Linked DNA regions of Homo sapiens: regions 1, 2 and 4 are each linked to region 3. The links are contacts of gene promoters, found by promoter capture Hi-C in blood cells and fetal thymus (Javierre and others, 2016). All regions are on one chromosome and are shown on one strand. The core of a region is centred on a gene start or on the middle of the fragment in contact, and the rest is flanking DNA. Distances in the headings are between cores, read along the strand shown. Region 1 has its middle 15 kb from the start of TWIST1. Region 2 has its middle 3.3 kb from the start of TWIST1. Region 3 holds the start of SP8 (Sp8 transcription factor). Region 4 has its middle 5.5 kb from the start of POLR1F.

What was found. The method cuts DNA at HindIII sites, captures the fragments that hold promoters and counts their contacts. A CHiCAGO score of 5 or more calls a contact.
Region 1: a fragment that was not itself captured here is called in contact with the fragment with the promoter of SP8 in region 3 in 1 of 17 cell types (naive B cells); the score reaches 5.7 in naive B cells.
Region 2: a fragment that was not itself captured here is called in contact with the fragment with the promoter of SP8 in region 3 in 1 of 17 cell types (naive B cells); the score reaches 6.9 in naive B cells.
Region 4: a fragment that was not itself captured here is called in contact with the fragment with the promoter of SP8 in region 3 in 1 of 17 cell types (monocytes); the score reaches 7.2 in monocytes.

Annotation. Positions count from the first base shown.
Region 1 is chr7:19,101,352-19,104,051 of GRCh38, reverse strand. No RefSeq gene overlaps it. Among named protein-coding and RNA genes, the nearest start is that of TWIST1, 15 kb to the left of the region's middle. The HindIII fragment of the contact is 6,208 bases long and covers 1-2,700 here.
Region 2 is chr7:19,119,635-19,122,334 of GRCh38, reverse strand. No RefSeq gene overlaps it. Among named protein-coding and RNA genes, the nearest start is that of TWIST1, 3.3 kb to the right of the region's middle. RefSeq lists an enhancer at 2,689-2,700. The HindIII fragment of the contact is 803 bases long and covers 969-1,771 here.
Region 3 is chr7:20,785,499-20,788,198 of GRCh38, reverse strand. It overlaps SP8 (Sp8 transcription factor), which reads left to right and starts at 1,313. Exons shown (of 2, transcript NM_182700.6): 1 at 1,313-1,421; 2 at 2,404-2,700. The coding sequence starts at 1,401. The HindIII fragment of the contact is 6,810 bases long and covers 1-2,596 here.
Region 4 is chr7:19,713,175-19,715,874 of GRCh38, reverse strand. No RefSeq gene overlaps it. Among named protein-coding and RNA genes, the nearest start is that of POLR1F, 5.5 kb to the right of the region's middle. The HindIII fragment of the contact is 2,662 bases long and covers 86-2,700 here.

The sequences.
Region 1 (2,700 bases), core at 183-2,682, 1.7 Mb after region 3:
TTGTGGAAAAATGCCCTGAGACCGTTATTTTTGCCTTTTATAAGGATAATTACCACTAACAATACTCATATGAATTCAAGACTGATGGAAAAGGAAAGATAATTTTTTTTTTTTTTTTTTTTTTTTTTTTTTTTTTGAGACGGAGTCTCGCTCTGTCGTCCAGGCTGGAGTGCAGTGGCGCGATCTCGGCTCACTGCAAGCTCTGCCTCCCGGGTTCACGCCATTCTCCTGCCTCAGCGTCCCTAATAGCTGGGACTACAGGCGCCCGCCACCACACCTGGCTAATTTTTTGTATTTTTAGTAGAGATGGGGTTTCACCGTGTTAGCCAGGATGGTCTTGATCTCCTGACCTCGTGATCTGCCCACCTCGGCCTCCCAAAGTGCTGGGATTACAGGCGTGAGCCACCGTGCCCGGCCGGAAAGATAATTTAACTAGCCTGTGCAGAACTGTTTGTTGGTCAGAAAAACCAGGAGTGCAGTTTGCCCCATGGAGTGATTACAGATGAGGCAGAACCAAAGGAGAGTGATCATGAGTGGTTTTTCCTACTCTGTGCAGATGATCCCAGAGGTCTTTTCAATCTGTGATCTGTGGTGCCATTCTTATATCTGACATGCTCTCCTAGTGGGTTTTCATGAGTTATTGATGTAAAGAACAACCTGTAACCAGAGTGTAGGTAGCACAATTCATAAATATAACAACCTACGTAAAAAGTATGTGGACTTACACAAACGTACAGCCACAGGTGACTCTCATTTATTCCTGTAAATCATGTACTCAGTTATCTGGCTGTACAAATAGAGTTAAAATTGTAGATCAGCAAGAAGTAATGTCGAAATGTTCATTCTTCCTCAAGCACTTTTCTTCAAGTGACAGGCTGCATGGCTGGCCACTATGACACTGCCTTCAGTTGAACAAATGAAAGATTATTCAGTCAGCAAACATTTCTTGGAGTTCTGATTACGATCTAAGGACTATGCATAAGTGACCATGTTATGCTCATGACAGTGAAGGAAGAAGCCTCTAATCGCAGAAGCATGGTCTCACTTGTGTATGTTTAGCTACATGTGCACTGGAGGTCCTTGCGGTGGCTACCACACCCCAGTTTTCTTTGATATTTTGAGGTGGTGCAGAAAATTAGAGACCCCTTACCTGTGGGAGAATAGGAGTGGAGAGGGAAAATAAGTTCCTCTGCATTAAGCATTCTGAGAGTATAAACTTTAGAACAGAACTAATGGAAGTGAGCCCAAGAACTTTCTCTTTTGCATTTGCTATTTTATCTTTTCATCAATCTGTAGGAAAAATTAAGTGATTAGTAGTCACTTATTAGACTATATGTTTTTGGTATACAGATGCCTGTCCAGCTTAGTGATGTGTAATTCTAACACTTTGCTTTGTGCCTGGCACATGACATTTTTGTTAATTTGAACTAAATATACTAATTATCAACATTATACCAATAGGAAAACCTGGGCAGAAATGACTGAAAAATGACAATACTGACAGTCCCATTCTATCATGGGCAGGGGGGCGGGGTAGGAGGATTAATACTCTTATCTTTCATTTTTAGAATAAAAGCCCAGGTAAGCAAAAAGATGTTCAAAAACATTTATTGAAACATTATGATTCAGACACTTATTTTAAATGTTTTAAATTTAAAATAGCTGTGGAGCCCATAGTTGCTATTTGCTTATATGAGCTCCCTGTCTAAATAGTAAAGGGAGCCCTTTTTTTCAGGGCTTATATCTTATTGTGCAGAGTGGGACTTATTTCAGGCCCCTTTGCACTGTGGACCAAGTGCCCTTGTTCAGTGACCATCCCTCACAACCATATGTGGCAGCCATAGTATTCTGAAAGTAATAAGTATTAAGTCTAATAAGAAATTTGGCTAGCATATTAGTGTGTTGTAATGTCTGTGAAATCAACTCCATTTGTTTCGTGTGAGAGCTCCACATATACTGTCCACATGTGATTCTTGTCCAAACTGGAGCAGCCTGTCCAGAAGGGTCTGTCTTTTCTCCTGATTCGGCCAATTAGGGCTCTATTTTCATATATTCCTGTGCAATAAACAGCTCCACATTGTTCTTTCACCTTCTAAAACAGCATAATCACTGATGATTAAACAGTACATGCCAATCAGTATCTGCTGAGAAACTGAAACTTCAAGTTACTTTTTTACTGCACATATCCACACATTATTCCAAACCCAAGAGTGGTGGTTTAGAGACTCAAATGTAATTGATTGTGAATTGAAAAGAGGCATTCTAAAAAGATTTTACCATTTGTGTGATTAGTATGAATGGAGAAAGTTGCTTCTCCACCCCCATTCTTCTCCTGCCTTCCCCTTCACTCCAGGGATGCGGTGAACTTGTGTAATTTAAGGCAGGTGGTCCACATAGTAGGCTGACCACAGAGGATGAAAGAGTGTGCATTTGATACCCTGACTGCTGCTCTTTAATAGACTTTAAATATACTCTGACTATTATTTGGCTTTGGCTATTACATTTATTTTCACTTTCTTTCAAAGGCTTTTCTCTTTCATTTCATCATTTTTCCACATACTGAAATGTAACCCTGGTCCAATGGCACCAAATGGAGGATTTATCTATATTGTCGTCAAACTAAATGCAAACGAAAAATCAAAGGAGAGCAGAGGGCACCACTGTATTGGTCTCTTGAATGCTGAAAGAAAATGTGTGCAT
Region 2 (2,700 bases), core at 121-2,620, 1.7 Mb after region 3:
ATGTTTTTTTAATTAATAAAAATGGCATAAATCAAATAGACATCTCCAAATGATATTCATTAATTGTGTGTTATTTTTGCTGTTTTGTTAGCTTTCCTCTTCTCTGAGCTTCTTTCTAAACAAAGTTATCTGGGAAATTGTGTCCTCTTGTGGTGACTGGCAAAAACAACATGTTTTCTGCAGAAAGAACCAAACCAAACAATAGCAGCAGGACATAAGGCTTCAGGAAAACCCATTTGTGAAAAACGGAAATCCCTTCCAGTGAAGAAAGGTGAAAGTTATGAGTAATCAGAAAGAGAAATTGAATTGAAAAAACATAGAATGTAAATCATTCCATTTATATTTAAATTACTGGTCATCGGATGATTAAAAAGAAGACACATAATGCTATGTAGAAAGACTGAGACCATGATAATAGTTCCTATGAATAACTATTTATTTCTTGCATTCTTTCATCAGTTATTCCAGCAACTCTTTGATACAAGTGAAGTGAGTGTGTTTTCCAACAAGGTTAATGGGCAGCTAAGACACCAACTCTCCAGCCTGCACAACCCCTGAAAAAAAAAATGAAAAAAAAAAATGCTCTTCAAGACTCCATACTTTTCCATATTCTGATCCTGCACTTTCTACAGGTTAGACCTATGTCTCCTCATCCCATCCTTAAGCTGAGTTCAGAATGTCAGCTATTTTAAAGATTAACATTTATTTGAAAATTTCACTTGCGGTACTGTTCGCACCCTAATTTATTGTGTTTTTTACTTTTTCGTTTTATTTCTGGATTGAAAACTTCACATTTTATAACTTTAGTTTGTTTTTTTTACTTTTAAAGATATTCAGATAGAAAAATGTAGAATCAGTTGAGTTTATGAATCAAATCATCATTTAAAGAGAAAGAGAATGAGTTTTTATATAGGGAAAGGTGTTCAAACATCATTAAGGCTACCAGGGTCATGAAAGAAGAATAAGCTTTTACACAGTTATTGTGTTGACATACATGACTTTATATTCCACCTTACTAAAATTCTCTCATTTAAACAGCAGTCCCTCTGGAGTGTTCAAAGCAAGATGAAATCTAAGATATACAACCTCATCTGATATTCACTCAATTGCAGCCTTTCTAATTTTCACTCCCTTCCGTGCGAATGCTCCTGTGCACTATTTATGCAATTCAGATAAATTATTTCTCAGAACTCGGAGCCAACAAACAGGTGATAGGCCATCTAAGGTCTGAGGAGAAAGAAGAGTAGGAACAGATTGAGGTACTCACCTTTTATGCAAGCCCAAACTCCAGAATTTACCAGTTGGCTAACCATTCTATAGTGTGTGTTTCTTTTCCGTATCTAAAAGTATTTATAATTGGTTGTTGCTAAGAGAATGTCACAGCATATTCAAACTGCCAGGATACTTAATACTTATTGTATATGTTCAATGTGAGATTTCTAACTCTGTTACTTTTAACAGTATTTTTTGTTTCAATTTTTAACACAGCACACATTCCTCAGGCAGGATTGCAAACATGCCAAGTTTGCAGTTTGAAAACAAAGATCGTTTTGAACTATCCAAGTACAAAAGAAATTTTTTTTTTCAGTTAAATTTTTTTGGGGAGGACTTTACTTTAGAAGGAGGCAAAATGACTGAATTCCAGTTAATCTAGCATTCCCAAAGAAGGTAGTCCCCACTGACATACTTCCAGTTAGGCTAACTTCAGCCTCAAAAGAAAATTTCTAAGATTGTTTTCATGATCTCAAGATTGGGATTTTAGAAAGAAGCTTTCAAATTTAAACTAAACATTGCAGAAGTTGCAATTATTGTTGCATATATAAGAGAATCCAGAATTATACCTGACCTGTCAACAAGTAAAAAGGGAGCCATCCTTGCAAATGTGGAAAAGAAAATTGTTAGGTAAAATGTTAGATAAGAAAGAGCTGTATATGAGCAGACTGGACTCGTCAGCCAGGGCGTGTTGCAGTTTGCAAAGCAGGGAGTATCTAGCTCCAGCCATTTTTTGAGAGGTACCTCCTGGACTACTTTTGCTCCAAAAGTAACATTCAAGCCCCACTTAAGAACTCAAAAGTCGTCTCATCCTCCACTCCCCGGAACAGTTCAAGAGCCATTTCTTCTTAGAACTAGTCATCAATTGTGACTGTGGCTGAAAGAGTCCATGGGCAGGATGGTTCTGGTTAGGTGTTCATTTTGAATTCCCCTCTCAGTATTCTGGCATCAGAGCGTCGCCTGAGCCTTGCGGGGATCCCTGTACCCAATGGCCAGGAGCTCTTCATCAGCTAGAAGTTTAGTGCCGGGAAAAGGGCTGGGCTCACTTGTTTAAGAACCAGTCTTTGAGACTGATGACTTTGCAAGATGGACTGGCTAATGACCCCTGGCTGCTGCGCTGCTGTGGACTTGGTTTCTCCTCTAGCTTGTCCGCTCCCCTCCCCTTCCCAAATTCCCCTTGGTCAGGTAAGATTTCCTTTACACTTTACCCACACTTTCCTGTCTTACTTATCCGTGGCCACAAAGGAAAGAGTCCAATCATTCGATCTCTTTATTTATTTTTGAGAAAAGAGAAAAAAAGAACAAAACAAAAATAAGATTTATCTTTAAAAAAATAGCTGAAGTGGAAAAGGTTTCGAGATTTCTGCAGCCACGTTCTAAATAAGAATTGCAGAATACTGTAAATTCAGATTTACAAAAAGAACACTT
Region 3 (2,700 bases), core at 64-2,563:
ACACTGACGCCTGGATAAATGTCCAAGATTTGTCAAAAGCTCCTCTCTATTCTTAGATAAATAGAACCCATATATTTCGATCAAAGTCCTGATTCTTTTCTCAGAAAGAGGCAGTGAGGTTTTCTGTGAAAATTTCTAAATTCCGTAAAACGCTCTTCAATTTCTTACCCAAAGAAAAAACGACCCTCGCTTACTCTCTTCTCTATCTAATCCTTTTGTATTGAAATTTACTCAACACCACGGGACACACACACCTCCTCCCCTAGAGTGAGACGTGCACTTCTAAAGCAGAATTCCACCTCAGGGAAAAAAAAAAAAAAAAAAAAAAAAAAAGCCACGGCATCAAAGAAACAACTCATGGGCGCGCAGGCGCGCATCCACGTCCCAACGCATCCCTAAAAATAACCCTTAGCCTCTCAACCTTTCTACTATTTCGTTGGAGAGCCGGGAAAGAAAAGGTGGGTTTAAAGATCTTCTTCAAAAATGTAGTGACGCTGTTTACCAAGTTAAGAAAAAAAAATCACTCAAGATTTTAGGTACAAGGAGCCAAAGGAAGTTGGCGACAGGGGCAGCGTTTGTGAATATTTATTCACTCAGCCTCCATCAACTTAGTCGGTTTCTCTCTTCAGCTCGACAGTCTCTCTCTTACAAACACACACTTTATTGCATTGTTCCCATTCCCCACTACCAGCTTTGGTGCGCGCACACAACACAAGCGCCCACACACACCCTTCCCTCTTCTCTGTCGCACAAATACACATGTTCACAGCCCTCCTTCTCCCCCAACACCAAACACACTCACCCCCCACCCAGTTGAGTCCCTCTTCCCTCCCTAGGTTTGTCAGTTACACTACCGTACACTCACACCCTTCCCAACACTTAACTGCTCTGTCCCTCTACCCCGCTTTGTCGCACACGCAGTTATCTTATCACACAACCCTCCCTTTTCTGCACTCTCTCCACTCCCCGCCTTTACCACACTGTCACTGTTACGGTGTCACACCCCCATCCCCCCTCCCTCCAGTCTCCGCACTGTCCTCTCCTACGCCTGGTCACACTCGCACACAGTTACATTGTTACACACACACTCATACACGCGAGCGCGCGCTTTGCGCTTTGTAACACACGCAGCCGCCCCCGCCCCCTCCGCTCCCACTCCCCCTTCCACCACGGCGGCAGGCGGCGGCGCCGATGACCTCACGGCGCGCGCGCCGCGCGGCCCGGCGAGGCCGCAGATTGGCTGGCCGCGCCTCCGCGGCACTTCAAAGCCGGAGAGGGAGCTACAATTGTGGTGGAATGGGCGGAACTGATCATTGTATTGCACACCTCTAAAAAAAACACTGCCTCTGATTTATCAATATAAAAAAGATCCTCTGAGAGGAGGAGGGCACTTTTGTGTGATGGCAACTTCACTTCTAGGGGTGAGTCTCAGGATTTTCTCTTGCTGGTTTAATTAGTTTCCTTTTATTGCCGATTGGAGGGGGTTAAAGTCGCCCCGGCCAGGCCACGGGCTATCAGTCTCTCTATTGAGAGCTTTTTTTTTTTTTCTTTAAATACAAGTGAGTTTGGAGAAAAGAAAAAGGGGGAGAAGGGGGCAGAGTCACTTTTTTTCAGCGCAGGAAAAGGTTCGAAGGGCATTTAGACAAGCCACCGCGCAGCGCCTCGCTGCTCCCTGCCCGGGAGACCTGCGTCCAGCCCATTTTACAGGCACCGATTTCGGGGGTAAAGAGAGCAAGTTTTTCCTTCTGGGCAAAGTGCAGATTCTTCCCCTAACCCTTAAAAAAAAATTCTGCAGCCCGCCTTGTCTCGCAGGTACGTTGAACTCGTCTCGTTTTTACTACTGTAGATATGCTTTTAAAAAAAGAAAGAAAGAAAAGCAGGAAGAAAGAGTGAGCCCTACAGTTTGATTTCTTTTGGCCTGGGAGAAACAACCCAGGATGGGTTTCTGGGGACCCGAACAGGTTTTTCAAAGCTCTCCGGATTACAGGGAAGCGCTCTTAAAAGCAATCCAATGGTTTTCCCCCAGGCTTCTCGGCAAAGAAAACTTCCTTCCTCTCCAATCTGGACTTTTTGCTTGTTTGTTACGAAGTGTCTGGGGCTTTGTGTGCAAGAGAGTGTTGTTTTAGGTGAGAATACTTGTCAAACTCTTCTTTAGCGTGGTGCTTGCTCCCGAATCAGACGCCGGCAGCCAAACTTGTCCCCTCCTGTAGAGTAGGAAGCGGCCGGGCGCCGGGGCTGTTGGGGGTGCCAGGTGAGTTGGTGGCGGCGCGCCGCAGCGAGAGATGGGGTGCAGTGGGGCGCTTTGGAGGCTACCGAAGGACTGATGCACATTTCTTCCTTTCCTCCCCCACCGGCCCTTTGCCCACCTCCCCTCCCCCACTCCTTCTCCTCTCCTCCTCGCAGGAAGAACCGAGGTTGGGATCGACTCCTCTGGCCATGCTTGCCGCTACCTGTAATAAGATAGGCAGCCCCAGCCCGTCTCCCTCCTCCCTCTCGGACAGCTCTTCTTCCTTCGGCAAAGGCTTCCACCCCTGGAAACGCTCCTCGTCCTCTTCTTCCGCCAGCTGCAACGTAGTGGGTTCCAGTCTCTCAAGCTTCGGCGTGTCCGGGGCCTCCAGGAACGGCGGCTCGTCCTCGGCGGCTGCGGCGGCCGCGGCAGCAGCCGCGGCTGCCGCGGCCCTGGTGTCCGACTCGTTCAGC
Region 4 (2,700 bases), core at 167-2,666, 1.1 Mb after region 3:
ATTTCTGGTTCTGTGATGCTGCCTTGATTTCAGTTTCTGGTCCCTGCACTTGAACCTGAGACTTCATCTCTCCAGTTGTCAAGCTTTGACAGCTACCTTCAGTCATTTCACTCTAGGCACTTGAGTTTGTTTAACAAAACTCCCTACTCCTGAATCAGCCAATTGAAATCCAGCTTTAGTCACTGAGGCAGCAGCAGCTAGTGAGAGAAGCGACTGTTTTAGTCACCTGGCCAGCAAGTATGTACACATATTGAAAATAGGAATTCAAAGAAAGGATTTCAGCCAACTGAAAGAAAACTTGAGCTCCATAAACCTTGAATATAAAGAGGATGGAAAATCTAGGAGGTCATTGGAGACAGGCAGAAAGCTGTAACAGAAACGGAAACAAGATCACTTTTCCCCTAGGCTTTATTGATAAGGTGCTTGGACCTGTAGGCTATAGAGAAAACTAATTTGGTCATGAAAAAAATTATGCCCTTATATTAAAGATATGTTCATTTCTGGTAGGCTCTGGTGTTTTTTTTGTCCTACTTTTAAACATCCAGTTTAGTCTATTCGACTGTGCCAAAGATTTCAGGAGAAAAGGTTTTTTTCAAGCGGAGTTAATACTGTCAGTATCACCCTAAAGCCAATATGGTACAAGAAAACAGGAATCACAACAAAGAATATCAAGGCAAAGTGAGACACAAAGAAATCGAGTAGCTTTCTTTTATTCATTAGTCTTTCATTTTATTCATTAGTCTATCCTACTCAGTGCAAATTTTGGACTTTCAGATATTTTACTAACAACTGTGGCCTTAAAGTAATGACTTAATTTGTAAATTCCTGCAGGGCATTTTTCACAACTGGGCAAGTTCACTTTGCCATTGGACAACGATAAATTCATAACTATAATAATTTCCAAAGCATAGGTGTATTAAGCACCCTGTAGCTGTAACGGGAAGTCTAGAATATGATACATTAATATAAATTGTGTTTGGGCACTTCAGAGTAAATTGTGTATCAAAAGGCACTGCATCTAAATTTCATTTTTTTAATTACCACCCTCAAACTTTCCGTACCACATTCTTCGGAACTATTTAATGTCAAGAATCTTGGAGTTCACATCTACACAGTTTCTGCAGTCAGCAAGTGCTTTATTAAACTACAGCATTAAAGTAATCTTCAAAATATAAAAAAGAAAACTGTTTTCTATTTCTATTCTGCACTGAGCAAAAGACAGGTGGAAGTAAATGAGAATTTCCACAGTCACCCTTGCAAGCATCACAGCCAATTGTATTAGCTTAATTCACTGGATTTGAAAAACTTGAAAGGAGGATGTTGAAATTTGATTGCAGAAAGGTCTGATTAGAGAGGAAATAGGGCTTAGAAGAAATACTAACACTAGTTTTTGTAAGAGGACAATAAATACAGATGGCATCTTGTCCTCCTAAAGTAGACTCACCCCCTTGAGATACCTTGTTTACCTCTTCCCAACCTCTAGAAGCAGTCATCAGTGCTCACATCTACATGTACGCAGACTCGTACACACTCACACACCTCAAATTTATTTTATTATTTAAGCTAATCCTTTCTAGCTGACATCTTTCATCCAAAGTGCTAGGCAGTTGCCTTCTTGGCTTTTACCTAGATAGATAATTGTAACATCAGGAGCTAAAAAATTGGCATGACTTTATTTAGGTCCATATTTCAAAGCTCAGGTTTAAACGATATGTGTGTGTGTGTGTGTGTGTGTGTGTGTGTGTGTGTGTGTGTGTGTGTATGTAATATAATGTGCTCTGTTAATATATTTCCTCATTCTCTTTAGGCACATGTGTATCATGTAGTGTCAACAATCTAACAAGCAAGTAGAAGGAGCCTTCAGAGTCAAAAATTTATCCTAAGTTCTCTGTTGAAGAAGGATTGTAGATAAAAACAAGCCATCAATAAAGTTTCCCTTCACTTTTGTCATTTCTACAGTCCTTAAGCTAAAGCAAAACTTTACAAATTTAAGCTCATTTTTGCCATCTGCTGGCAAATTTGTGAAACACAAGTGGTCTGCATCAACAAACATTTGGTTGATATACCCTGTATTATATATATTTCGGCTAAAACTGGTGCTTGTTTGACACCTTTCCAATCCTACTAAAATGTTAATATTTACCAATTTGGTCAAATATCTTACCTTAGCACTTTTCTAGGCAGAGACTAAATAAAATAAACCATCAATTTTTACAATTTCCTTCTTCATCAGTTTTTGATATAGACATAGAAAAAGTGAGGATCTTTAGTGATTCAAAGCATAAATTATGGGATAACTCATGCCTGGGTTAGATTCCTTTATTGATAAATCGCTGGGTATTCTTGGGAAAGTCATTGGTTCATTCACTCAAGGAGTATGCATTAGGCCCTGGGCATATGACTGTTAGCAATACAGAGAGGATAGCTACCATCATGAGGCTGACATTTCTTTTAGAATACAGGCTTCTCGCTTGTAAATATATGTCATTAGTGTAATCAATTCATAAAGATTATCTGTCAGTGATTTACCTAGGGCACTTGGCATAGCATCTGGCAGGTTTGTAGTAAAGTTTACCTGTGATAATGTTGGTCATTGTGATGTTGACACTCATCACTCATTCCACCAATTTGATATAAACAGTCATATAAGTGTGATTAAATCCTTCCTGTCAGTACTAGTATTGCTCTTTATCCAGGGTG